Regions from separate parts of the Homo sapiens genome. Here all the other regions are linked to region 1. The links are contacts of gene promoters, found by promoter capture Hi-C in blood cells and fetal thymus (Javierre and others, 2016). All regions are on one chromosome and are shown on one strand. Each heading gives the region's core, a stretch centred on a gene start or on the middle of the fragment in contact. The rest is flanking DNA. Distances are from core to core; before and after follow the strand shown. Region 1 holds the start of C17orf67 (chromosome 17 open reading frame 67). Region 2 holds the start of SEPTIN4-AS1 (SEPTIN4 antisense RNA 1). Region 3 holds the start of MMD (monocyte to macrophage differentiation associated). Region 4 holds the start of VEZF1 (vascular endothelial zinc finger 1). Region 5 holds the start of PCTP (phosphatidylcholine transfer protein).

Region 1 (2,588 bases), core at 63-2,562:
CTAACCTTACTTACACTGACCCACCCTTCACAAGTTTCACTTTCCTGACTACTGAGTTCCTGCTCATCCCCTTCACATTCCCTCCTCCTCCCTCTTAAACACCTAGTCACTTCTGCACAAAGTTCAGTTCCGTTCACGAGGTACCTTCTTCCCTATTACAATAGTATATTATTAAAATCTGCTTTACCACTTTTACTAGTGTCTAGCTTTATCTTCTACAGTTAATACAAATATACGCACATACACATGCATATATATGCACACATAATAATATATACATACACACATACACGTATATATACATCTATATGTGTATTCTTAATGAATGTTATGTCTTCTCTAATCGTTTGGAAGATATTATCAAGTATTTCTTTGCAGTTTTCCTATGATCTCTGCGTTTCTTTTCTGTTCCTTTGGTCCCTTGCTTCGGTGTGTGTTTTCTTTCCATCTTTTATGCTAGAGGAAGTCCGCAAGCAACAAGTGGTCCTCGGCTCCCACTCCTATGTATGTATGTAGTAGGAAGGAAGCCGCTGAGTGCAGCTGTGCGCGCCGGGGCGGTGCCTGTGCCTCTCTGGATTCCGTGTTTCTTCGGGGGTGCTGAGCAGCGGTGCTTCCGCGTCCGCGTTCTCCGGGTAGCTGATGTGCTGCAGGCTGCAGCCCGCGTGGTCGCGGCTCAGGTCCGTGTTGGGCTGGTAGGACTCCAGCGGGGAGCGAGCATTCCTCCGGAACCTGGGGCTGGACGACAGCAGCAGGAGGCGTGCTCCCATCTCCGGTAGTCCCCGGCTCCCGCTGCTCCCCTTTCTCCCCGGCCTCGGGCGCTGGCGGGCGCGGGCGAGGGGGTAGCGCAGGGGAGGCCCGCCCGCCACGGCAGGGGGCGGAAACCGCGGCCGGGCTCGGGGTCAGCGGCGACGAGCGGGCGGCTGCCCCGCTCGCCCTCGGCCTCCGCGCCCGCCCGCCGCTCCGCAGCGGAGGAGCCCTCAGGTTTGCGTTACTGCGGCCGCCACACCTACCTCAGCCCGCCGCGGCCAGGTCGGGCGGTGCCGCGCAGGCCGCCTCCCCCCCTCGCTTCCCAGTCGGCTTACGCATCCCCGGCGGCGGCGGCGCCGGCATCGGCTAGAGGTTCGGCTCAAGTCGGGGGCACTCGTGTCTGCGCCGAGCGGCGGGCGTGAGCGCGGCCCCTGGGCCCCGCGCGGCGCGGTGCTGCGAGGAGGATCCTCGTGGCCTTGCCCCGCCGGCGGCTTTCCAGAATTTTCTACGATTACGAAGTTTTGGCATTCAACCCTCCATCCTCTCAAACGCCCCACTGTTACTCCGCCCCCTTCCCCTAGGCCCCGCCCCCAGCCGCAGTGCCCTGCCTCTTCCATCCGTCTCCAGCCTCCTCCACGGCCCCGCCCCCTCAGGCCGGTCCGTCTCCCCTCCCACCTCACACCTCCGCCCCGCCCGTCAGCCCTGGCTCCGCCCAGCCACGGGGCTCGCCGCCACAGGCCCCGCCTCCAGCTCGCGGCCCCGCGCGCCGGATCGGCGTGCGTGCGGCTGGAGCCTTAAGCGTTTCCCCCGCCCGGCTTCATCCCTGCTGGCGGCCCAGCGTCGTTCTCCTCCTGCGCGAGGCGGCCAAGGCCTGCTGGCCCGGAGCCGCGCCTCCACCCGCGCGAGGTAGGGCTTCGAGGACCGGCGCGGCGCAGGTCTCCGGAGGCCTCCCGAGAGGGGCTAGGGTCGCCGGGCCGCGCGTGGGAGCGGGTGGGGCCCGGGAGGAGACGGCGCCCCGGAGGGGAGTGCGAGGCCTGGGCCGACGGTTACGGGCGCCGACCGGCGTTGCCTGGCCTGAACGCCCGGCCTTTCGGTGGAGGGCAGCTTGCCCCTGTATGTTGCGCCCTTCCGTGGGTCAGACCGGCGGCAAGGTGAGGCGGCGGCGGCAGCAGCAGCCGCCTTGGGCTCCTGGACGCGCTCCCGAGGTGGGGCGGGTTGGGGAGTGGGGATTGGAGCGTGATGGCTGGACGTCGCCTTCTCGGCGCGGCAGGTCCCGGGAGACGGGGGGACGAGGCGCAGTCCCGCCCTCGGGAGAGCGGAGCCACCTTCACTGAGGGCGCCCGGTTTGGCCCCGGAAAGGCAGGAAGGGGGCGGGGAAGGGATGGCGAGCTCGGGGTGCACCGCCTGTTTCTTTTCTGGTTAGGTATCGTCCTTGGAGAAGATGGAAGCGGAGAGGCGGCCGGCGCCGGGCTCGCCCTCCGAGGGCCTGTTTGCGGACGGGCACCTGATCTTGTGGACGCTGTGCTCGGTCCTGCTGCCGGTGTTCATCACCTTCTGGTGTAGCCTCCAGCGGTCGCGCCGGCAGCTGCACCGCAGGGACATCTTCCGCAAGAGCAAGCACGGGTGGCGCGACACGGACCTGTTCAGCCAGCCCACCTACTGCTGCGTGTGCGCGCAGCACATTCTGCAGGGCGCCTTCTGCGACTGCTGCGGGCTCCGCGTGGACGAGGGCTGCCTCAGGAAGGCCGACAAGCGCTTCCAGTGCAAGGAGATTATGCTCAAGAATGACACCAAGGTCCTGGACGCCATGCCCCACCACTGGATCCGGGGCAACGTGCCCC
Region 2 (2,588 bases), core at 43-2,542, 1.7 Mb after region 1:
CCTGCAGTTCTTCACGACCTGCATTGCGCTGGCAGTCCTGAGTGAAGAACTCTCCTCTCATCCCAGAGATGGGAAACCTGGATCTGAGACTGCCAGCTAGCTGCGGCCTCCTAGTCTGTAAAGCGAAGGGAGACCAGGACGCTCCCAAGGACCCGGCTTATCGCCCCTCCCTTTCCTTCCCGGGGACCCAGAACAGACCACAAGACGGAGGGTGGCCGCTGGAGGTCGCCGTGGCCCCGCGATACCACCAACCGACAGAAATGGAGAACAGTTGATTCAGATTCAGCTGATATTCTCAGGTCTGGAGCGGGCCTGAGCGCTTTAATTAGCCCGGGGCTAATGTCCTCACCCATCTTTGTTTATAGAACGTTGAAACTCCAGTACTGTTGGTAAGTTCCAGGAAGACAGGAACTTTGCACTACTTGAACTCCAGGGTCTAGAACAGCCTGCAATCTAGCAGATGCTGTAAATTTTTTAATTAAATACTGAACTCCTGTAGGACGGTGATTGTGTTTTTATTCATTCCCAGCACTTACTATAGTGTTTGGTGATTACAATGGCTGCAGCATTTGTTCAAAGCTCTATCACAGGCTTTCTACAGTGTAGAGCTTAACCTGCCTATCCCTTTTCCCAGATCAGGGGAAACAGAAAGTCAGGAGGTTGCACGCAGTTAATACCTTGTGTTTTCCCAAGGGCAGGTATCAAATACAAAACTGCGTCCGCCGCAGCTGGAATACGCACAGGCATCAAAATGGGGCCTTTTGGGCCGGGCGCGGTGGCTCATGCCTGTAATCCCAGCACCTTGGGGGGCCGAGGCGGGCGGATCTCAAGGTCAGGAGATCGAGGTCATCCTGGCTAACACGGTGAAACCCCGTCTCTACTAAAAATACAAAAAATTAGTCGGGCGTGGTGGCGGGCGCCTGTAGTCCCAGCTACGGAGTCTTGTAGTCCCAGCTACGGAGCTTGCAGTGAGCCGAGATAGCGCCGTTGCACTCCAGCCTGGGCGACAGAGCGAGACTCCGCCTCAAAAAAAAAAAGGGCAGGGGGGACTTTTGGACAGTCCTTTAATATTGGGGAAGTGCCCCAAATTTCTTTTTCTTTTTATTTTTCTTTTTTTTTTTTGAGACGGAGTCTCGCCCTGTCACCCAGGCTGGAGTGCAGTGGCGCCATCTCAGCTCACTTCAAGCTCCGCCTCCCGGGTTCAGCCATTCTCCTGCCTCAGCCTCCCGAGTAGCTGGGACTACAGGCGCCCGCCACCACGCCCGGCTATTTTGTATTTTTAGTAGAGACAGGGTTTCACTTTCTCCTTAGCCAGGAGAAGTGCCCCAAATTTCTAATCCCTTAAGCCAGGACCTTGGTAGCCCTGAGGTGTGATGGGAGACTCTGGACAGAACCACCTGTTGACCTATCCAGGACCCAAATATGCACCACAGGTAGGAATCTTTTTATTACCAAAGGTACTGTATGTGTGAAAGATGGAGAGAGACCCAGACCCCAGATAACAGAGGCATGATAGATATGATCGTCAAGATGGAGAAGCCAGGCTGGATTCTAAGCAGGGACTTAGAAGGGGAAAGGAAGTGGAAAGTTTTCCCCACTCTCCCTTCCCTACTAAAAGCCAGAAACCAACATCTTCTACCATTAGCCTTTCAAAACTGGGTCCCAGGATCTTGATCTCCAGGTCATAAAAATACACACAGGGACACCAGAAGCCACCTACAGATTTATTAAACTTTATTTCCTCTGAGTCTCTGGGCAGTCAGCAGGGATGTAAGGCGAAGTGGCAGTAGCTGAAGGGGCCTGAGCAGAGCTGGTGCTGGGAGGGGCCGGCATGGACAGGAAGAAGAGGAGGAGATTTAAATATCCAGGGCTGAAAGCCAGTTAATAGTTCTCCTTCATCTGTTTTTGTATTTTGTGTAGCATCTCCTGCATCCGCCGCAGCTGGAATAGGCACAGGCATCAAAATGGGGACTTTTGGAGAGTCCTTTAGTATTGGGAAAGTGCCCCAAATTTCTAATCCCTTAAGCCAGAACCTTGGTAGCCGTGAGGTGTGATGGAGACTCTGGACAGAACCACCTATTGACCTATCCAGGACCCAAATATGCACCAGAGCCAGGGATCTTTCTATTACCAAACAAAGAGATACCAACGTTGGTGATCAAACAGGAGACCTCCCCTATACCCCATACTGCTCTCACCTCCTCATCTTTCTCTCGGATAAGCTTCTCAGTTTCTGGATCTGTCCCTGGTGGGACAGCAGGGATGGGGAAGTCGGTACCACTTTCCCGAGTCAGTTTGCTAAAGGGAGAAAAGGGTTGATAAGGCGAGGAGGACCCCAGCACCCGCTTAGATTGAGCCCAGGGCCTATAGAAGAACAAAAGTAGGGCTTGGTCTCACCCAAGGCTAGGCTTGGGATCTCCCCCTGCCAGCTTTGTCCTGGCTTCTGGTCATACTTGCGATTCCGTTCCTTCACCACCAGGCGGGTCATGCTCTGGATGCACTGTGCCCGGTAGTTCTCATAATGTGTCTCCCGTGTCACATCCTTCAGGTCCTGCATGTGGGTACGTACCAGCATTGTCCTCAGCTTC
Region 3 (2,588 bases), core at 60-2,559, 1.4 Mb before region 1:
CTTTGGGACTGGGGGAGGAATGAGATGGGTGAGAGGGCAGTGAGGGCATGGAGATTGGAAAGAAAAAAAAAATGTGTACTTTAAAATTCTGAAATAAAAGGTAGTGTCTAAAAACTCAACAACCTTCTTGGAAGATTTCATGCATTTCTTAAAATTTCCCCTGTCACTGCACCCCCAGCAAACATGCTGGTGGTGAAGGTCCGGGAATTCACACAAAGGGATGCAGTTACCATATGCCCTGGAGAGGTGAACTTTCACCCACTTAAACAGAAAAGAAAAGCCCGGAGTTCCTCTCAGAGTCATGGGCTAACCTCCATCCATTGTTAGACGGTGGAGCCCCAGAGGGGAGTAAGGCCACGGCGCCCCCCAGCCCGGCATTTCCACCAGCTCTACAGTGAATGAGCAGTCGGCCAGCCTTCCGGTGGCGCCTCCACGGTTCCTCCTCCTCGTTTCCTAACACCGGCGCCTCCACAGCAGGTCTCGCCACCCGAAAGCTAACATGCCCCTTCGCAGAGCCCAAAAATAGCACCGCCCTGGGACGTTCAGCTGGAGAACCAGCAAGGCCCCTACACGGCCAGGCAGGGCTAAGCTGGCGGAGCGTGCCTCAGTTTCCCTGTTGCTAGGGCCGTTCACAAAGCACCCAAAATGCCTAGCACCCCGCTTTACGACAAATCTCTCCGCAGGGCGCCACCCCGTTCCGCGCGCCCCGGGAGACCCCCACCCTGGAGGTAAAGGGATGGAGGCCAAAGCCAGGTCGGAGGACTCGGGGGCGGTGCCCGGGGCTGGGGTTCGGGTTCCCAGAGAGAGCCAGAGCCCAGCCTGTATGGGGGTCGGGAGGGTGAGCCCCAGGAGCAAAGGGATCCCCGGGAAGGAGGACAGGCTTGGAGTCCCGGGGCCGGGAATCCATCTGAGGTCCGCAGATCGCGAGGGGAGACCCGGGTGAGGCAGGAGCTCCCATCCTTGGAGGAAGGGGATCGCCCAGGGACAGCAGGGTGGGGAATCCCCAGGGAACTGATCCCTGGCCAAGGTGCGGGATCCACCCAGGATGAATCCAGGTGAGGAGCCGGGAGCCGTGCGCTTAACGGCGGGATTTGGGAACCCGCTTCTGACACGGGCAGCGGGACCGGGACGCCATCCCTCTCACCGCTGGAATCGATTCTTGAACCGCATTGATCCTCTGCTCCTCCTCGGGGGCCAGGAGCTCCGTCTCGTCAGCACCGGCGGCCGGGCGCGCGGCCCTCATGGGCTTGGGCTGCTCCGGAGGCCGCCTGCGTGTCCAGCGGAACCCTTCGGCCGGGTAGGGTCGGAGTGGGCCAGGCCGGGGGTCGGGACAGGGCTGGGGCCAGACCGGGCGGCTGGGGGCGGGAGGGAGGCCGCTTCAACGGCCCCAACACCTCCCGCCTCCCGCCTCCCGCCTCCCCGGCTCCTCCGCCCCGGGGCTCCTGCGCCCCGCCCCGGAGCCCGGCTCCGCCCCCGCCGGCTCTGTTCGCCTGCGTGCACCCGCGGTCGCCGGCGCGTCAGCGCGCCGGTCAGCCAATCGGCACCCCGAGCGGCGCGGCGGCTACGCTGCCATTCATTCCCGCCGGGCTCGGGCAGCGAGGCGGGGCCTCGCTGGGGAGGGGCGGGGCGAGGGGAAGGGGAGGAGCGCGGGAACGCGGCGCCCTTCTGTAAGAGACAAGTTGGAGAAGAGATCGAGGGAGGGAGAGAAGTGGTGAAGGAGGAGATGGACCAGGAAATCTTAAAAGCATTGTGAAGAAAATAGCAGCAAACAAGCAGCCCTACCTCATTCATTTTTTCTTCATCATTAATTTCTCCATCCCTCCTTTCATTTATTCCTTCATCATTTTGAGGGCCAGCTCCCGCGAGGCTATTGTGAGAGGATCCAGGGCAGAATGAAAAACCTGTCCTTGTCTGACCCTTGAGGGAGTTGAGATCTCTGAGCGTCTTCTAACTCTGAGATTCAGTGAGATCCACAAAAGGAGGAATCCTCTGCAAGGATCCTTTTATGTTATCCTCCAGTTTATTTTTTATTTTATTTTATTTTTATCCAGGCAGCTTTCAAATAAACGAGTTGACTTGAATCAGGGTCCTGTCGCTAAACCTAAACTCAGAGGGCTTCCTGGAAGAGAAGTTCAAATAAAAATGAATGAATGGGCCAGGTGCTGTGGTTCATGCCTGTAATCCCAGCACTTTGGGAAGCCAAGGTGGGCGGATCACCTGAGGTCAGGAGTTCGAGACCAGCCTGGCCAACTTGGTGAAACCTTGTCTCTACTAAAAATACAAAAATTAGCCGGGAGTGGTGGCGGGCTCCTGTAATCCCAGCTACTCGGGGGGCTGAGATGGGAGAATCACTTGAACTTGGGAGATAGAGGTTGCAGTGAGCCGAGATTGCACCACTGCATTCCAGCCTGGGTGACAGAGTGAGACTCTGTCTCTCTCTCTCTCTCTCACACACACACACATACACACAGAATGAATGAATGGGTGATTTGTCGAGCCTTTCCAGGATCACTGATGGAAGTTATATGTGTTCCCTTCCAGGTATCGTGTCCATACCCAGCCCCCAGCCTGCAGGCTAGAGACTCTGA
Region 4 (2,588 bases), core at 61-2,560, 1.2 Mb after region 1:
CCGTGAGCTCATCGCTACTGCCCACTGAATGCTTCGTTTTGCAAACAGAAACGAAGTAGGAAAAAAATAAGTTCCAGCCTAGATCTGCCAAACAGGGGTCCCCCATCTAAAGTGGGCGGGCAAGAGAATTGCCAAAACACATCGGCTACAGTCACTTTCAAGTTTCTTGCAAAAAAGCGAAGACCAACATCCCAGAGAGTGACTCATCTGGGGGCTTTGTAAGCGGACTTTGTTTGCTCTCTCCACTTGGTTGGAGGAAACGTTCGAGGTGGGCGAGAAAGAAAAGCGCTTCGGGAGAAGGTCGGGCCTCCAGGAGTCCCGGCCCCCACCGCTCCCCGCCTGCCCCGGGCCGGCCCGGCTGGGGGATTCCCCAGGCTGAATGGGACGGCGGGAGAGCTGGACAGAGGGAGAAGGTGTCAGCTGCCAAGGCTCGGCTGAGACTTGGGAAAAAAAAATGTAAATCCAGTGAAAAAGTTTGGGGAGGGGATACACACTCACAACATCCGCCCCCCCAACTGGGTAAACACGAGAGGGGTGGTGGCGGTGAGGGGGAGTGGCGGGGAACCTGGGGATACCCGCTATTCGCGGGGACACGGGAGGGGGTCAGAAAGTCAACACACGCACGCACACACACAAAAAGACGAGGAAGGTGAAAAGAGAACAAGCGAAAGATGGATGAAGTGGCGGGGAGGAGACTCAGGGCAGGACCTGGGGACCTCCTCACCCCACCGTGGGGGACCGGGCCGGCACGCAATGGCCCAGCAGCCCGCGCTATCCAGCGGCCCGGCGCCCTCCTTTCTCTGGGCCGCGGGGTGGTGACAGCGACCGGCCTCCTCCCTTCCCCTTCAGAGCGAGAGGGAAGGGTGTGTGTGAGTGTGTGTGTGTGCGTGTGTGTGCTGGGGGGCCCCCGGGTTCACCCCGCGGCCTGCTATCTCCCCCGCACCCCGTGAGGCCGCCTCCTTTCACCTCAGCAGCCCCGCTTCGCCGGGGCGGGCGGGCGGAAAAACAAAGGGGGATTAAGGCCGGGCCGGAGAGCGGAGCCGGGAGGGAGGGGAGGAGGAGCGCCCGCCCGCCCGCCAGCCCGGGGCCCGGCCCCCCTGTCCCCCCCGTGCCCCCCCGGGGGGGCCCCCAGTACCTGGAACAGGAACGCGGTCCAGTTGGCCTCCATGGCTGCGGCGGCCGACCCCCCTCCTCCCCACTCCCCCCGCTCGGGGAGCCTCCTCAGCCGGAGGAGGCGACAACAAAGCGGCGGCGGCGGCGGCGGCAACGGCAGCGGCGGCTCCTCAACATGGCAGCGCCGAGCGCGGCCACTTCCGGTAACCTCCGGGACGCACCACCGCGGCGGCGAGCGCGGGCGGGGGGGGAGCCCCGGCCCGGCCGCCGCCGCCCCCAGTCGCCCGGACCCCCTCTGGGCGTCCCCGCTGCCGGCTCGCCGCCTCGGAGCTCAGCCAGTGCCCGCTGGCGGTGGGGTCAGGGCCCCCGCGGGGGGGCTGGGGTGGGGCCCGGGGCGGGGATGGGGCGCGGCGTCCCCCCCCGCGGGGGTGTGTGGTGCTGCGGTCCGTGGCTCAGGCAGCTGGAGCAGGGGGAGCTCAGGAGAGAAGATGGAGGACGCCAGGGTCTGGCGCTGGCCCGCTGGGCACAGCTGGGCCGTCTCCCGTGACTCAGACACGGTGTCCAGCACCGTCGCGTCCCTGTTAGACCCTCAGCGGAGGGCACAGGCCACGGCGGACACTCGGCTCTTCAGTCGCTCATGCACAGCATGGTCCCCACCTCCAAACTGGGGGAAGCCCTTTCGACTTCGAGCCTCTCTTCCTTTTGGCATTTCCTCCCCGGCCGGCTAAGCCCTCTGCGCTCTCGCTATGATATGCATCTCATGGCGAGATGGCCTTCCAACTCAAGCAGGGAATCCCACTGGGGTGCAGCCTCAGATCCTCTCAGTGTGGAGGGAAACACTTCCCACGCGTAGAGATGTCATTACTGGGTTATTCTTGGGTGAAGGGCTGAGCCTCCCCATCCTCCCCTTCACTCCAAGATAGGATGTGAAATTCTATCCCAACACCCCTCCTCTCCCGCCAAAAATAAAAACAAGTGAGATAGTATAGACAAATTATTTTAGTCCTTTAGTACAGTCTGTTTCCTCCTTCACCCCCAGAACAAAAATCGAACTTCTGGTTGGACAGCGTCAGATGTCACTGAGGTGACCCCAGCCTGTTTGCAGTTCCAAGTCTTCCGTGTAGGCGTCACTGCTACTGGAACTTTGTAGATGAGGAGCCTGTATGATGATGTCCTGAACATTTCTATCCTTTCCTCACACAGAGGGAAGCTACTGGGAATATCAGAGACAAGCTATTATTAAACAAGTGTCTCTAGTCCAAGACATCTCCTGTGGCAGGGAAATGAGGGGGCAGGCTGTATCAGTGATATTTTTATAAACTCTGGTTTTAGAAAAAATTCTTCAGATGGACGCATTATTTTAAGACTTTAACATTTTCCAAAACCAACTGAATCTTATCCCCTCCATTTATCCCCCTCCAGACACTTCTAATCAAGGTCACCATCTCCAACTTCCCCCATAGACAATAAAAATA
Region 5 (2,588 bases), core at 63-2,562, 1.1 Mb before region 1:
TCAAGCAATGAATTTCCATTTAAATAAAATATGGATTTACAATACATAGAAAATTTACAAGGAGTTATAAAACAGTGGGAAAGTATGTCTAGCCTAAACTTTTGTGCATTTAGTCTAGGAAAATTTCACATCCCTCTTTCCACACCTATAAAGCCAAACAGAACCAGGACTGACTTGAGGAAAGCAATTATTTATCTCTGCTGTGTCTAACTAAGCAAGCTGCCAAATGTGATCATTTGCCTGATTGGAAAATCACATAAATTAAGACTTTGCCATCAACTTTCTTTCAAGTAAGGAAAGAAAAGCATTTCAATATAGTAATGCAAAACAAGTGGAAATTGTTATTGAACATTTACTTGGACGGGCACTGTGGAAAATTATTCCTTGTCCAACCACCTCCTCAGCTGTAACTGGTAGCACAATTCTTGACCCATTTTACAGATTAGGAAACATGAGTTTCCAGAGTTTATTGGCACTCACGTGGCTGTTACATCGTTTTGATGTTCAAACGACCTACTTTATTCAAAGTCAGGTAGTACAGTCTGCTGGTGGGAAATACAGTATTACTCAAGGGACTTCAAAGGAACAAGAAGATGTTTGAGTTGCACAGTGAGCTAAATTATGCAAGTTGCAGAAATCCTAGGTGGATAGTACGACACCTTTCAGATCAGTTTCTACCCTCAAGGGTGGCAACAACCTTGTAGATCCATTATGGATTAGGTTTCTAAACTGTTTTGGTGTTATGAACCCCTAGAGTCTTCTGGGGAATCCAATGGACCTCGTCTCAGAATAATGTTTTACAATGTATAGCAGAAAGAAGAGAAATTATATTGAAATACACTTCTGGCATTTGACCCCTTAGGATTTTTCCAGCATTTCTACTCTGCCCACCTCTCCTCTCATGTCTACCAAAGAGACTTTCTCTACTTTATTCAGAAAGGTAAATGAGAGACACTCAAACAGGTCTGTAGGTTATGGGAGTAGCAGGGAGTATGGGATAGGCTACTGAGGAGCTGTTTTTGAGGTGACATCACTGTCTCCCTTCCTTTTTCCCTTCCCTCTGGAAGCCTCCTTACTTCTCCAGCTCTTCCTTCCTTCCCCACATCAAGTCCAATTTTTCTCCTTTTACTTCTTGTCTATCCTCCTCACTCCTTGCTCAGCCCCGCCCGCTTTTCTAGGCCCGCCCCTCCAGGGCCCCACCCTCAGGCCGCTCCTCCAGTCTAGGCCCCGCCTTCTCCTCAGTTTCCTGCCAATGACGCTGGGGCAGCCGGGGCAGCCGGGGCAGCCCGGTCACCCCGCCCCCAGGCCCACACTAAGGGTGTCCGCGGCCTGCCCTCCAGGCGGAGGAGCCCGGACTGCGGAAGGATGGAGCTGGCCGCCGGAAGCTTCTCGGAGGAGCAGTTCTGGGAGGCCTGCGCCGAGCTCCAGCAGCCCGCTCTGGCCGGGGCCGACTGGCAGCTCCTAGTGGAGACCTCGGGCATCAGCATCTACCGGCTGCTGGACAAGGTAGCGGCCAACCCGCTGGAGGACCGCGGGGCCTAGAATGCGCCGGGGTCGACCTCCCCGCAGGGAGTGCGGGGCGGCAGTCGCGGAAGGGACAGGGGCGCGTCTTCTCCGGCTCAGGAAGGAGCTCCGCCCGGACCCTGTCTCAAGCTCTGGAGCTAGCGCAGGGGCGGTGCCTCCAAGTGACTGCCGTGCAGATCCAGGGGAGTTGGAAGGTCACAGGAGTTCAGCCTCAGGTCAGGCCCGACGGGGCATGTAGTTAGAAGTTAATGACAGTTGAAACGTGGGTCAGCTGGTTCCTAGGCCCGTGCACACGTCTGCAAGGGACGTTGATCCTCACTCTCCAATGCGTGTCAGTGGCATATGGGGGCTGGGGTGGGGGAGGGGCGGTATCTTAGGGCTTGGATATAGGAGGAAAAGAAACAGAACTTTTCAAGGACTGGATGTGCAGGGTGGTGTCAGGGGTTGCCGAGAAGGGCCCTACTGTTTTAGTGACTCGTTTCTTTTGGTTGTTGCCCCTTCCTTCCAAGTTGCTCTTAATAAGTTGAGTCCGAATCTTCAGGCAGGAGTAAAGATGTAGGAGGAATGGGATTGGTTGTTGAAGTCTTTGGAATCAGGTAGCCATCCAGGTGGAAGGCATTGCCCCTGAGGCCTGTCATCCAAGGCTTGTCATCAGTTGCTTTGTGTAATAGTCGCAGCATGGCAAGTAGGTTAAAAGTCGCCTGCAGGTAATGTGGGTGAAACTGAAGTTTCCTAATACAGGACCAGGATATTATAGTGTTAGAGTTAGGAGGATACCTCATGCTCACCTGGTTAAACCCCAGGTTTCATAGGTGAAAGCAACAGGCCTCAAGGGTGAAGTCACTCCTGAAATGGCCCAGATAAGTGAATAGCAGAGGTGGGATTGGAGGGTTCATGATCTTGTGAATGTCAAACATGTGGTTGCCTTTTTAGGCACTTGCATTTTTGTTTACATCAAATATAGTGTTTTTATATTTTAAAACAGAAAACAAACGTTTGCAATATTTAGAAGTTGCTCACCTGTTAAACAGGAATGAAAACTCTGCCTGTCTCATTGCAGGAAT

The links. Contacts are between HindIII fragments. The CHiCAGO score rates a contact against its expected background, and 5 or more counts as called.
Region 2: the fragment with the promoter of SEPTIN4-AS1 here is called in contact with the fragment with the promoter of C17orf67 in region 1 in 4 of 17 cell types (non-activated CD4 T cells, activated CD4 T cells, total CD4 T cells and 1 more); the score reaches 7.4 in non-activated CD4 T cells.
Region 3: the fragment with the promoter of MMD here is called in contact with the fragment with the promoter of C17orf67 in region 1 in 1 of 17 cell types (non-activated CD4 T cells); the score reaches 8.6 in non-activated CD4 T cells.
Region 4: a contact is called between the fragment with the promoter of VEZF1 here and the fragment with the promoter of C17orf67 in region 1, in 7 of 17 cell types (neutrophils, naive CD8 T cells, fetal thymus and 4 more). The highest score is 11.8, in neutrophils.
Region 5: a contact is called between the fragment with the promoter of PCTP here and the fragment with the promoter of C17orf67 in region 1, in 1 of 17 cell types (naive CD4 T cells). The highest score is 5.5, in naive CD4 T cells.

What each region holds. Positions count from the first base shown.
Region 1 is chr17:56,832,608-56,835,195 of GRCh38, forward strand. It overlaps C17orf67 (chromosome 17 open reading frame 67), which reads right to left and starts at 1,313. Exons shown (of 8, transcript NM_001085430.4): 1 at 1,011-1,313; 2 at 291-735. DGKE (diacylglycerol kinase epsilon) reads left to right here and starts at 1,544. Exons shown (of 12, transcript NM_003647.3): 1 at 1,544-1,653; 2 at 2,171-2,588. The coding sequence starts at 2,189. RefSeq lists silencers at 541-835, 809-1,878 and enhancers at 1,203-1,800, 2,269-2,588, 2,400-2,588. The HindIII fragment of the contact is 8,035 bases long and covers 1-2,588 here.
Region 2 is chr17:58,518,545-58,521,132 of GRCh38, forward strand. SEPTIN4-AS1 (SEPTIN4 antisense RNA 1) reads left to right here and starts at 1,293. Exons shown (of 5, transcript NR_110810.1): 1 at 1,293-1,433. It overlaps SEPTIN4 (septin 4), which reads right to left. Exons shown (of 14, transcript NM_001368771.2): 12 at 2,454-2,588; 13 at 2,199-2,298; 14 at 1,712-1,941. The coding sequence ends at 1,882. It also overlaps a transcript of MTMR4 not described here. RefSeq lists enhancers at 1-597, 1-44. The HindIII fragment of the contact is 4,387 bases long and covers 1-2,220 here.
Region 3 is chr17:55,420,526-55,423,113 of GRCh38, forward strand. MMD (monocyte to macrophage differentiation associated) reads right to left here and starts at 1,310. Exons shown (of 7, transcript NM_012329.3): 1 at 1,145-1,310. The coding sequence starts at 1,170. RefSeq lists a silencer at 1,251-1,710. The HindIII fragment of the contact is 12,161 bases long and covers 1-2,588 here.
Region 4 is chr17:57,986,944-57,989,531 of GRCh38, forward strand. VEZF1 (vascular endothelial zinc finger 1) reads right to left here and starts at 1,311. Exons shown (of 6, transcript NM_007146.3): 1 at 1,136-1,311. The coding sequence starts at 1,168. LOC101929185 (a long non-coding RNA gene) reads left to right here and starts at 1,167. Exons shown (of 1, transcript XR_001752716.3): 1 at 1,167-2,588. It also overlaps a transcript of SRSF1 not described here. RefSeq lists silencers at 574-643, 724-1,203, 1,274-1,553 and enhancers at 1,704-1,753, 1,774-1,913. The HindIII fragment of the contact is 4,468 bases long and covers 1-2,588 here.
Region 5 is chr17:55,749,739-55,752,326 of GRCh38, forward strand. It overlaps PCTP (phosphatidylcholine transfer protein), which reads left to right and starts at 1,313. Exons shown (of 6, transcript NM_021213.4): 1 at 1,313-1,506. The coding sequence starts at 1,366. RefSeq lists a silencer at 1,111-1,450. The HindIII fragment of the contact is 1,470 bases long and covers 1-1,383 here.